3 separate regions of the Homo sapiens genome follow, and all the other regions are linked to region 2. The links are contacts of gene promoters, found by promoter capture Hi-C in human tissues and cell types (Jung and others, 2019). All regions are on one chromosome and are shown on one strand. The core of a region is centred on a gene start or on the middle of the fragment in contact, and the rest is flanking DNA. Distances in the headings are between cores, read along the strand shown. Region 1 overlaps C4orf50 (chromosome 4 open reading frame 50). Region 2 holds the start of CRMP1 (collapsin response mediator protein 1). Region 3 overlaps C4orf50 (chromosome 4 open reading frame 50).

What was found. The method cuts DNA at HindIII sites, captures the fragments that hold promoters and counts their contacts. A contact is called where the count stands out against the background at its distance.
Region 1: a fragment that was not itself captured here is called in contact with the fragment with the promoter of CRMP1 in region 2 in 2 of the 25 tissues and cell types used here (H1 embryonic stem cells and IMR-90 fibroblasts).
Region 3: a contact is called between a fragment that was not itself captured here and the fragment with the promoter of CRMP1 in region 2, in 3 of the 25 tissues and cell types used here (H1 embryonic stem cells, hippocampus and mesendoderm cells).

What each region holds. Positions count from the first base shown.
Region 1 is chr4:5,958,276-5,962,233 of GRCh38, reverse strand. C4orf50 (chromosome 4 open reading frame 50) reads left to right here. Exons shown (of 12, transcript NM_001364689.3): 12 at 2,608-2,859. The coding sequence ends at 2,859. Among named protein-coding and RNA genes, the nearest start is that of MIR378D1, 37 kb to the right of the region's middle. The HindIII fragment of the contact is 6,092 bases long and covers 1-3,958 here.
Region 2 is chr4:5,890,703-5,894,881 of GRCh38, reverse strand. It overlaps CRMP1 (collapsin response mediator protein 1), which reads left to right and starts at 1,796. Exons shown (of 14, transcript NM_001014809.3): 1 at 1,796-2,293. The coding sequence starts at 1,913. RefSeq lists enhancers at 3,191-3,934, 3,935-4,179. The HindIII fragment of the contact is 12,427 bases long and covers 1-4,179 here.
Region 3 is chr4:5,976,984-5,980,989 of GRCh38, reverse strand. It overlaps C4orf50 (chromosome 4 open reading frame 50), which reads left to right. Exons shown (of 12, transcript NM_001364689.3): 7 at 652-816. Among named protein-coding and RNA genes, the nearest start is that of C4orf50, 39 kb to the left of the region's middle. The HindIII fragment of the contact is 5,714 bases long and covers 1-4,006 here.

The sequences.
Region 1 (3,958 bases), core at 1,113-3,612, 67 kb before region 2:
AAATGTTTTTCCCATGTTTTGCACAGTACCTGGCCCATGGGAGGCCTTCAGAAGCACTTGTTGGGTGAATAGTTAGCCAGAGACAGGGGCCATCAGGCTGTTTCTCTGGAAGGTACACGGCACCTGCTCCTGGTTCCCAGCACTGCATTTTCGCTGCAGTCTTGGTTCTGTCCAGTCGTCATGAGCATTTGGGAACAGAGCTCCTTGCCCTGGGCAAAAACAGACAGCAAGCCATGTATCTGGGCTGGTTTTGGGGAAGAGCTTCCCATGCTGAAAACAAACTTGTTAAATAATGACACCAGGGGATTAGTGACCTACAAGGAAAATGAGGTCATGGAGTTTTGAAGGGCAGTAACTAAATTTGTCACGTCACACAAATCTATTACTGTACGGTTGAGCTTAGCAAAAAAAAAGGAGAAGAGAGCTTTAGAGTATACAGACATGTCCTGAAAAGGCTGACAAATCTTTAGTGAATGAGGAGATGTTTCGCCCTCTATATCATTAGCCTCATCCTATCACTCGGCCACTGAAGATCCAACACTACATCCCTGGGTTCAGCTGTCACTGTGGTGGGGAATCAGGCAGGCTTGAGAGCCGTATGGCCTGGGTTCAAATCTTGCAGCAGGCTCCTATTAGCTGTGTGGCCTTGGGCACAGCACTTCACCTCTCTGGGCTTCTGTTGCTTCATCTGTATGATGGGATGATAATAATAGCACTTATCTCCTTGGATTTTGTAAAGATGCAATGAATCAATATGTGGAAAGTGCTTGGAACGACATATTGCAAGAGCTCAGTAAATGTTCACTGTTGTAGACTGAATCCTAGGAAACTGCCAATATTATACTACTCTTTCCCTCAGAAACAGTAATTTCATATGGCTTAAACTATCCTTATCATTATTATTATAGTTGTTGTTTTTGAGATGGAGTCTCCCTCTGTTGCCCAGGCTGGCGTGCAGAGGCACGATCTCGGCTCACTGCAACCTCTGCCTCCCAGGTTTGAGCGATTCTCCCGCCTCAGCCTTTTGAGTAGCTGAGATTACAGGTGTGCACCACCACACCTAGCTAATTTTTGTATTTTTAGTAGAGACATTCATTTCAAAACAAAAAGCTAAACTACGTTAAAATAAATCTATGCATTGTGACACTTCCTGGGGAGCCCTCAGTTCCTTGTCCTTGTCCTTGTTTGTCCTTCCATGAAGAGACAGCCACTTCCAGGAGGGGACAGAATTGGACAGGTAGCGGCTTTAGTATAAACAGGGTTTTACCATGTTGGCCAGGCTGGTCTCGAACTCCTGACCTCAGGTGAGCCACCCACCTCAGCCTCCCAAAGTGCTGGGATTACAGGCATGAGCCAGGCCGACTATCATTATTATTATTATAAGATGGAGTCCAGACTCCTGATGCGCACATTAGTCAGCCCAGAATGACCTTGCGTTTTAAACACATAACAGAACCCTGCTCCTCCCCAAAAGCCGAGCTCAGACACTGCCTCCATGAGGCCTTCCCAGCTCCTCAGTGTGCAGTCAGTACTTCCGTCCTGGAGGCTTCATCAGCACCTGTGTGGGTCTCTCTTCGGGCTTGAACCCTGCAGCATAATATTGAGTTTATGTGTCTGCCTCTCCCACTGGATTGGAAGTGCTCTGAGGGCAGGGACAAGGTCAGGCTTGGCACATAGTGATCGCCGATTCCCTGCCTCTGCTGTCCAGCCTCTTTTTCAGCCGTCTTCCACCAGTGAGGCAAAAGGCCCTGCTCATTGCAAACCTGCGGCTGCTCTTGCCTCCTGGAACTGGTGGAGAAGTCGGCTCCATTCTGCTCATCTGTCTGGCAAGGCACTGACACACCTGCCACACCCTTTAGAGGAGGGAGAAGAGGCATTAGCAGGACTCACATGTTACCTGGTGAGGCAGTCCTGCCTGTCATTTGCGGGAAGGTGCCTGAGAGGTGTGAGATGTTGGTCGTGAAGGGATCACAGGTACAATAGTGACTGGAAAGGAGACGTAGAAAGAGTGGAGGTTTGAAATCAGATGGGCTTGGCTTTGAAGTCGAAGCCACTTCAGAGCTAATACATTTAATGAAGGCATTTAGAATCTCTTAAACTGTTAAGTGGGTTTTCATCTATAAAGTGGGCCTGATGATAGCTTGTTGCAGGAACTAAGTGAAGGCAAGTAAGATGGCACATTTGGGGAAAGCCCTGAGATGTGCTGGGCATGAGGTTTGCAACCAGCAAGACATGACTTCCCCTTTCAAGGGAAGGTCACTTTCTCTTATCACCGGGAAGGAGAAAATTTATAGAGGATATCCACTCTACAGGAACGCCCGCTCATGACTGTATTGTCAGGCACCTGCCACATGACGTGGAGAGGGAGCCTCACGCTGCCCCAATCTCATTTTCTGACCCAGAACGCAGTGATGACAGCATGTGTCTCACTGAACTGTCACCAAAGGAAGTGAGCCAATGTGTGAGGAGTATTTGGTGCCAGGCACAGAAAGTGCCCCGAAACCGTTAGCTATCACTGTCATCTCTTCCTTTGATTAAATGTGTGAATGGAGGGGCTTTTACAAACATGTGGACGCAGAGACCATTTCATTGTCCTCTTGCCTGCAGCTCCCTCTGTCCTTGGTGTCCACGCTTGATCCTGGAACGTGCCTGGCAGCGGTCACTGTGGAACCAGGTCTCCCCGCACAACGTCTGCAAGAAAAAGGCGGAATGCCCTGTCCTGCCCTCCAAGTCGATAACGTCCCAGCACCCTCTGAGCTCCTGAGCCCAGCAAGGATCCTGGCTTTTCACCAAGAGCTTAGACAAAGCATTTGCAGCAATTCCCAGGTCCATAAATCACCGCTGGAGTTAGAAATGTAATAGGGCCACTCATTCTCCGGAGCCATTTCATAGACTCCATAAATATTTGAAGCAGAACCTTCAGAGAGTGCTTTAAGAAATTGGTAGCAATCAGAGCCCTCATTTAGTGGCAAGTGGTTTTGCCTTCGGCTTTGGGATTTTGTGTTCATTGTCAGAGCTTGAGAGAAACGCTGGCCTGTGCCTGGCAAATTCTGAGGAGTTTGGCTTTGGCAATGTCAAGGCAGCATAGGAAATATTTACTGTACCAAAACCTATTGAATGATTGGTCCAGAGGTTCTCAACTGGGCACAGTTTTAGCCCCCCAGGGAAAATCTGGCCATGTCTGGAGACATTTTTGGTTGTCACAGCTGGGACACTGCTACTGGCATCTGGTGGGTAGAGGCCAGGGATGCTATGAAATGTCCTACAATACCCAGGCCAGCCTCCTACAGCAAAGAATTACAGCCCGAGGGTCGCCAGTGCTGAGGTCGAGAGTCCAGGACGGATCTCATAGCTCCCAACAAGATCAGCCATGGAGAATTGTTTTGTTTTGTTTTTTCTCTGCCCCCGGGGTCCTTCCCATGTTTTAAAAGATTTTTTGTCTACTAAGTGAAACGCCTAAGTCACCATATATTTTACATTTAAAAACATTAAAACTAACCAGAACTTTCTAATCAGTCCATCCACTCCAAAAACGTCTGTTGATATCCACTGGATGCCAGGCAATGTGGCATGAAGGAGAAGAGACAAGTCAATGTTGATCCTGGCGCCGGGGACCTCACAGGACAATGGGAGAGATACTCCTGTGAGTAAATCAGCACGCACGCAAGTGTCACATGTGCCCTGAGCAACGGGATGAAGGTAAGGGTCCGTTCTACTTGGCTTGGGACAACTGGAAGTCAGCCACAAAGGAATGGCTGGGCAGTGTCCGGTGGGTGAGGTGGGAAGGGTGCTGCTGTACGAGGGAACGCATGTGCAAAGGCCCTGAGGCATAAAACTGAACTGTGGATGTGCCCCTGGAGGGGAAGTGGGCAAAGCATGCTCTTGTCAAGCCAGCTGCAAGCAGTCACTGCATCGTTCCCATCCAGCACCCCTTCCTTCCACCGAGAACAGAGACTCG
Region 2 (4,179 bases), core at 547-3,046:
ATGCCCACCGAGTGGATGAGCCCACGCTCTAGGCCTGGCTGAACCTCCTTGAGATTGAGGCCCTGAGGGAGCCATTTCACATCTCCCCTCCTGTTTCCTCTTCCAAGAGGGGGCCGGTAAAAATACCTACCTGCTGCACAGACCCCTTGTTGCAGGGTTGAAAGACAGTAGCTTCAGGGAGGTGTCAGCTGAGGCCACGGATCCGACGGCCCCAGGATCCTCAGTCCATGGGGCCCAAGAGTCATAAAACAAGAACATGAATCCATCTGTCTGTCTGGTATTCCTGGAGCTTGGTCACGCTGCGGGAGCTCTGGCTTGCAGCTGGCAGGGCCCGGGGTTGAAGGGACAGCTCCCAGCATGGAAGGCTATGGGTGGGGGGACATTGCAAGAAGCACTGATGCTCCCCTCTGCAGTCCCCACCCAGTCCTGACTTTGCTTGTCTAGACTGGCTCGAGGAGGGGGTCGGCAGCTGGCGATTCTGCCTCTCCAGGAAGTGCAGCTGGGACTGTAGGGTCCCCAGGGACTTGCAGGATCCTCTGCCTGATAATCGTGGAGAAATAAGGGAAGGTGTCTATAGGAGGCAGGTGGTGCCTGGCCTTAGAGGAGAGCCCCAGCAGAGCGACCTCCACGACAGAGAAACCCCAGAACGCCCAGACTGCAAGCTCCAGGAGCAACAAAAGTGGACTGTGCCCCTCGAATGAGGGAATATCTGTCTGTCTGGTTGACTGCCAGCTGTGTGTGTGTGGTCATCTCTGTCTCTGTGTGTCTTTCTCTGGAGCGTTTTTATTTAAGCTTTTGACTTCCTTTATTACTGGTGTGGACTTGTGTGTGGGCATCCTGTTGCCAGTTTATGATGCACATGTGTGGAATCGCCCTGAGCTTGCCTTTGATATTGGTGTGTTGTGTGGTGTCATTGGCGTGCACGTGTATGTGTGTGTCGCTGATTCTCATGCAAGAATGTGCTTCTCTTATGTGTCTGTCGGAGTGTGCCTCTAGCATGTCCCTCTTGGCTGCTGCACCACCTTTCCTGGCCCTTACCACCTCTTGGCCCACCATATGGGTGCTTTTGTATCCAATTCCCCTCCTTAGCAGGTCAGCTCCTGGAGGGCAGGCACTTGGTCTCTTTTGTCCATGGCTCTGTTCCCAGCTCCTACAACAGTGCTAGGCACTAGTGGGCGCTCAGCAAAATAAAACTGACGGAATGAACGGTGTGTCCAACGCATGTGCCTCTCCAGTTGTGCAATTAATCTTGGTGTGATACTGTGTGTGAGTGGGGTTGTGAGACAATGAGGATTTCTGTTGTGTGTTTGTAATGAACTCGGAATGTGCACAAGCATATATGTGTATGTGTGTGCAACATTGAGTATGGTGTGCATGATCGAGCCCCTGTGTATCTCTGGAGAGCATGTGTGATTGACTCTCGTGTGTGTGCCAGCATGTCTGTGCATCTCTCATGTGTTTGGCGTAATTGTCTGGTGTGCAGGTATGAACCCGCGTGTGCCTCCAGAGCGTGTGGGCGCGCGAGTGTACGCACACGGCTCCTGCCCCGCGCTCTCCTCGCGCCCTGCGCTCCGCCTGGGGGCGGAGAGTGGGGGGTGCGGCGAGGGCACTGCGGTGCCGCGGCCCGCCCTCCGCGCTGCGGCTCGGGAGCGTCACCGTCCCTCCCCGCCCCAGCCGCGATCCCCGCCTCCTGGTCCTTTGTAGCTGGCCGCGCCGCTAGCCCGCAGCCGCCCAGAGGCCCCGCCCCGGCCCCGCCCCGGCGCGCGCCACGCCCCGCCCCTCCCCTCCCTGGGCCGCAGTCGCGCCCGGGCCGCCGCAGGCCCGCACCGAGGCGCGGAGCGCGGCGCACGGCGGTGCCCAGGGCCGCGGGCGGGCAGGCGGGAGCGCGGTGGGTGGCCGGCCTTGGACGGGTATGGCGGACCGGCGGCGCGCGTGGAACACCGAGGACGACCTGCCCGTGTACCTGGCGCGGCCGGGCAGCGCGGCGCAGACCCCGCGCCAGAAGTACGGCGGCATGTTCGCCGCGGTGGAGGGCGCCTACGAGAACAAGACCATCGACTTCGACGCCTACAGTGTGGGCCGCCGCGGCTCGGCGCGCACGCCGCGCAGCGCTGGCCGGCCCGACGCGGTCGGGCTGCCAGGGCCGGGAGGCAGCGAGGACACGGCCAGCGACGTGAGCGAGCCCTCGGGCTCCGCGGTCAGCTCTCCCGGAGAGCGCGACGAGCGGCCGCCGACGCTGCGCATCCGCCGCCCCGCGCCCCGCGACCTGCCCCTCGGCCGGGACAATGGCCAGGTACCCTCGGGGCGCGCGCGGGCCAGACGAGGGGGGCGGGCCCCGGGAGGACCCAGGGCATGGGGCGCCCGAGGGCCATGCCCGGGCCCCGGTGTTGGGGCAGCGGCCGCCAGGCTGGGGAGAGCCACGGCGCGGCCCCTCCCCCACCTCATCATGCAAGAGGTTCCCAGAGCTGGGGCGACTCGGTCGGGGCTGGCCGGCGTGGTCCGTGAGACTCGGAAGGGATCGCCCGGGTCCAGTCCCGGCTCCTCTTCTACAGAAAGGGAGAGAGGTTCTGAGAGGGGAAGTTGGCTAAAGCTACCGCATGGACGCTTAAACGCGAAGGAACCTCTGGGATGAATCTAACCCAGGCCCCTCATTCTGTTTTGTGAAAAGAACTGGAGCTCCGTTCCGTGTTGGTCCATTCATCCATCCACTCAGTCGGTAGTAATTATAGAGCACCTACTGTGTGCCGGGCCCCGGGAGAGGTTCCGCGAGTCGCCTGCGGCCACACAGCTTAAAGCTGGAAGGAGCTTTTTTTCCGAGCGCTCCCCTCATGCTTGCTGGGGGGAAGGATTTGGTTAAGGATTTAGTTCGTCGGGCAGTTGGAGCCGTAAACCCCTACCCTCAAGCGCCAGTAGATTCAAGGGGCACTCCTGAGCTCCACAGCACACACCGATGTGCCTGCTTCACAGAGCAAGGTGGAGGTAGAGCTGGGATTTGAACTGGGGTCTCTGGCCTCCCGGACCTGAGCATGGGGCCGGGAGGATCAGGGAGAGGGAACGCTAGGGCTTGGGCCCTGCGGGTATTCTCTCTTGAGCTGGGGGTCACCAGGAAACTGGGGGAAGAAGGGCGGATGGACGGCGTAGCCTTTGGATGGACCGACGAGAGCCAGGGTCAGGTGCCAGAAAAACGGAAGTTGGAGCATCCGAGGGCTGGGGAGCTTTCGAATTGGTCCAGACCTGGATGCCGGAGAACTGCTAGGTGCCAGGCCCAGGGTAGGCGCTAGGTCCCTGGCTCAGCAACCTGGCCCCACCCTCCAGAAGTTCCCAGGCTAGGGTGAGCGACGGATTCATTGTGAGAATTAAATCAGTTAATGCCGGTCGGTAGTGAGCATTCAATAAATGTTTGTTGTTGACTTTTATTACAATCATTATCATTTTAATTAAACCTTCCCCTCTTAAATGCTATGAGTGACCCAAAGTGAGCCTGGAGGGAAGCAGAGCTTGATCGGGGCAGATATCTGGGAGGGCTTCCTGGAGGAATAGGAGCAGGGAACTGGTAAACACGGTGGTGGGCCTCTTCGGGCCCCATCCCTTCGCGGGCGGGCTGTTGCTCCAGAGCTCTCCGTGGTCCTGAAGCCGGAGCCTCGCGAGGGAGAGGTCCAACAGCAAGGGTGTGTGTGTGTGTGTGTGTGTGTGTGTGTGTGTGTGTATGTGTGTGTGGTGGTGGGGTGATCAGAAAGGGAGATGGTGCGAGAGTCCAGCTTCCTCTTCCCCCACCCCTTCTGTATCTCCCCCTGTCCACTACCTTCCCTGGTGGTCCGACCTCTCTTGGGATCCAAACTCCCGAGCCCGATGGGGAGGCTTCTGGGCCGCGGGCCGAGAAGCGGGACCAGCACCAGGGAATCCGGGTTTCCAGCCAAGGCGCTTTGCTCTCTTGGGCCTCAGCTTCTCCATCTGTCAGATGGGGGTGGCCGTCTTCTTCCGGCCTTCCTCAAAGCGTGGTGGAGTACTAGGGAGGCGAGGGCGCTTTGTGCACGGCCCGTAGCTGTCCCAAGGAGAGTTCCTCTGGAACTGCGGTCAATGTCACCAACGCCAGCATCTCCCCCAGGGCGCAGCCTGGGCCAGCCCCGCAGCTGCGCCCTGACCCTTGGGGACGCTGGTCGCTTCACCTCTCCCGTTCCT
Region 3 (4,006 bases), core at 1,419-3,918, 85 kb before region 2:
TGCAAAGCCAGCCTGTTCCCTCTCACTGTCCTTCCTCCCAGAAATTCCCTTTGGCATCTGAATGAAACCCGCTAATCTCATGTTAGATCCAAGAAGAGTGACAGGCAATTGTGTATTCATTTAAGAAAAGTGCCTGTGGGAGACACAGTATCTTCTGTTTCATATAAATATATTATGCTTTAGCATAATAGGCATCTCATAATTTGATTGGAACATTCAATTTCACTCATCACACTGTTTCAGTATAACAGTGACTGGCATCTATTACAGCAGATTCTGGAATGCCACCCCACTGCACATATTTTTGAAGCTAATATTCCAGGCTGTTATTCTGGGACTCTCCAGGCCCTCCCCAACACCCACCTCCGGAAACCAAGCAGAACCACCCACTCCTATACATGCACGTGTCTAGGGACTTAGCAGGAAATCTGCAGAAAATCTATGGATAATAAAGATTCTACAGGATAATCAGATTGGGAGTGATTTCTGCTACCTTATCTTCTAAAACTTACTGTAAGAGAAATATAAGCAGGAAAACAACAACAACAAAAAAAAAAACTACGGAGTGGGGAAACGGGTACCGTTTGTTGGCTAAGGCAAATTGCTTGAAGGATAACCTAAACATTTCATTCAAATCTGTGATTTCCGCAGCTCCGGGACTCAGAGGCCGAGGTTACTGAGGAGGATCCCAGGCTGCGGGCCCAGCAGCTCCATCACCGGGTGCTGACCCTGCAGTGCCAGCTCAGGGACCAGGGCGCTGCCCACCAGGCGTCTCTGGACGAGGCCACCCGCCTCCAGGAGGAGCTCCAGGCCAAGGTGTGGGAAGTGCTTTCTTTCCCCTCTTGTCAGCCAGGGCTCCCACACCCCGGGGCGTTTTGGGAGTGAACAAAGATTTGCTGAGGTCTTCTTGACCCAGCCAGTTGGGAGCAGGTACTGGATTTTTAAAGTATAAGGCAGTACCAGGAAAAAAAAAACAACAAAAAACCACAGGCTCTATGATTGCTTCCCTGTTAAATTTAAAAAATGCACATATGTGGTTTCTTTAAAAAGTCAAGCAGGCTTACAGTGTCATATAAATAAAAGTCAAAGCCTTTCCTCTGTCAGAGGGAAGTAGGCGTGACTATGATACAGTGGTGCAGGTGCAAACCTATACAGGTACCAGAATTGCACGGGACTTAACACGCAGACACACACGTTTAAAACTGGAGAGATCTGAAAAAGATCAGTGAATTGTGGCCATTTCAATTCCTGGTTGTGACATGACACTATAGTTTTGCAAAATATTCCCACTGGGGGAAACCGGGCAAAATGTTCAAGGTACACTCCAGCCCAGGTGACAGAGCAAGACCCTGTCTCTAAAAAACATGTACAAGAGGGCTCTGTATTATTTCTTACAACTGTCTGCAAATCTTAATCATCTAAAATATAAAAGCTTTCCTTCTCCTCAACCTTAACATTTTCTGACTTCCAATATTTTTTCAACTCTACCACCCACTTTCTGAATGTGTGTGTATGTGTACATGTTTGAAATTATACTGTACAAAACCATGCTGCATCTTCATTTTGTCATTTAATTAAGAATCTTGTGGCATTTTCATATCAACACATGCAAAGTGAACTCATTCCTTTAAAATCGTGTGTATTATGTCATCATGAGGCCAAATCATAACTTATTTAATCAATTTTTCTGTTTGTGGAAATTCAAGTTGTTTCCATTTCTTTGCATTACAAACACAGCTCCAATGAACATTTTTATTTCTCTCTCGGCATATACTTCTGCTGTATATCTAAATGGCAAATTTCTAGCAAAAGAAAGGATATATAAATCATTAACTGTGATAGGTAATGGCAAGTAACCCTCCAAAATGATAGCATCATTTATACTCCCACTAAGAAGAAACAAGTCTACTCATTTGCCCATAACTCGTTATCCTGAATGTTAGCAACTTTACAATTGTTGGACAAGTCAATGGATGAAAAATACAGCCTCAGCATTACGGTATAATTTCCAGCTCTTCTCCCATGTGTTCTTTGTAAGATCAAAGCATGTTATATGTAGAGTTTTATGTTCATTTGCCCATGTGGCTGCATAGTCCTCATACATATGATTATTTGACTGTGTGGTAATCTATGATTGTTTGTGTAGTAATCTATTGGGTGGATGTGGTTTCCTTAACTATTCCCCAATTGTTGCATCTAGAGCATTTCTATGAACTTACACATAACTGTTTATATATAACAGTTCAGAGAGCTGGGACTACTGGCTCCAAAGGTGGCAATATTGTTGATTCTTAGCTATATATCACAAATTGCTTTCCAAAGTAGTGGTATCCACTTCCATGCCACCAACAATAAATGAGTGTGTCTCGTTCACCGTGTCTTCAACCAACACAAGAGCTAGTATTGCTTTTTTCTCTTATCTGTCACTGGCCTGTGGGGAGGGGGTGTGTGTGGAAACTTCAGTTACACATGAATTAGACTTTAAGTATATTTGAAATTATTTTCATTCTTTTTTCTTTCTGCTCAGTTTCAATATTTCCTTTGAATCTCTCTTCCAGCTAAATAGTACTCTTTGGATGAATCTAATTTGCTCCTAAACTCACTTTAGTTCTTAATTTCAGTTAGTCTATTTTGCAGGTGGAGAATTTCCCTATGATTCTTTTTTTTATAGTTCTCAGTTTTATGATGAAATTTTTGTAATGTAATTCCTGAACATCTCTATCGCAGTTGCTTTAAAGAGGAAGAGTGTCTCTGATAACTTCATTTTATGTTCTCACCAGCAGTGTAGGAAGGTTCCAACTTCTCATTCTCACTAACATTTGCTACTAGCTGTCTTTTCTATCATAGACATCCTAGTTAGTGGGAGATTGTCTCTCATTGGTTTTGAGCTGTATTTTCTGATGGCTAATAATGTGGAACATCTTTTCACGTGCTTGTGGGTCATTTGTATGTCGTATTTGAAGAAGAGTTTATTCAGATTCTTCCCATTTTTCTAATAGGGTTAATTGACTCTCTTTTTGTTGAGTTGTGAGAGTTCCTTTTATGTTCTAGATAGAAGTCCTTTATTAGATATATGATTTGCAAATATTTCCTCCAATTCTGTAGGTTATCTTTTTAATTTCTTCTTGTTCACTTTTTGATTGCAAATGCCCAATACTTATCTCACTGTGGCATATTTATGTTATTTCCTAAACTGAAGCAGACAGAAGGTTTAATCCAAGGCTGCAAATATGATTGAGTGCTTTTTGAATGTAAGACAGTCTGCTTAAGGCTGGAATTTTACTCTTTGAATACGTTAGGAATGCTGTGCCAAAACAGATATATGGAAATATGCATTGAAATCTTCTTTGTAAAACAAAGAAACAGAACTAAGATAAATTTCCATAAACAAGGAACTGGTTAAATCAATTTTGTTTTGACTTTGTAATTAAATAACATGCAAGCTTTTAAAAGAATGAGGTCAGTTTCTATGTGTTAATATGAAAATACCATCAAAATTTTTGTATCACATACAAAGTGATCTCATTCTTTTAAAATCTTGCATATTATTTAATTATGAAGCAAGATGCAAGACCTTTTGCACAGTATAATTTCATATACACACATTCTGATCCATATAGGTATGTTGGTCCGAAGAGTTTGGGGGTGAGGAAGAGGCTTGCGGCTTTTTATTTGATTTTTTTAACTGACTGCAAAGGGACTGAGAGAGTTAGAAGAACTCACACAACACCTGTTTTGTTGTATCTTATGGGTCCAGAATTCAGATAGGACTCGGCTAGGCTGTTCCGCCCTCCAGGGGATCAGTGGGCATGACTCAGTGGCATCCGGCTGGATGCCAGTCTCGGCTGGGGGGTCCCCGGCGGCCTCACTCACATCCTGCCCCCTCTGCAGGGTGGCGGAAGGCAGCTCCCGCTGGTGCCTTCCCTTTTTTCTGTCATGTCTCACGGTCTCCCCAGAGGGCACCTGGAATTCTTAAATCCTGGCTCAGAAACAGAAGAGACCCAAA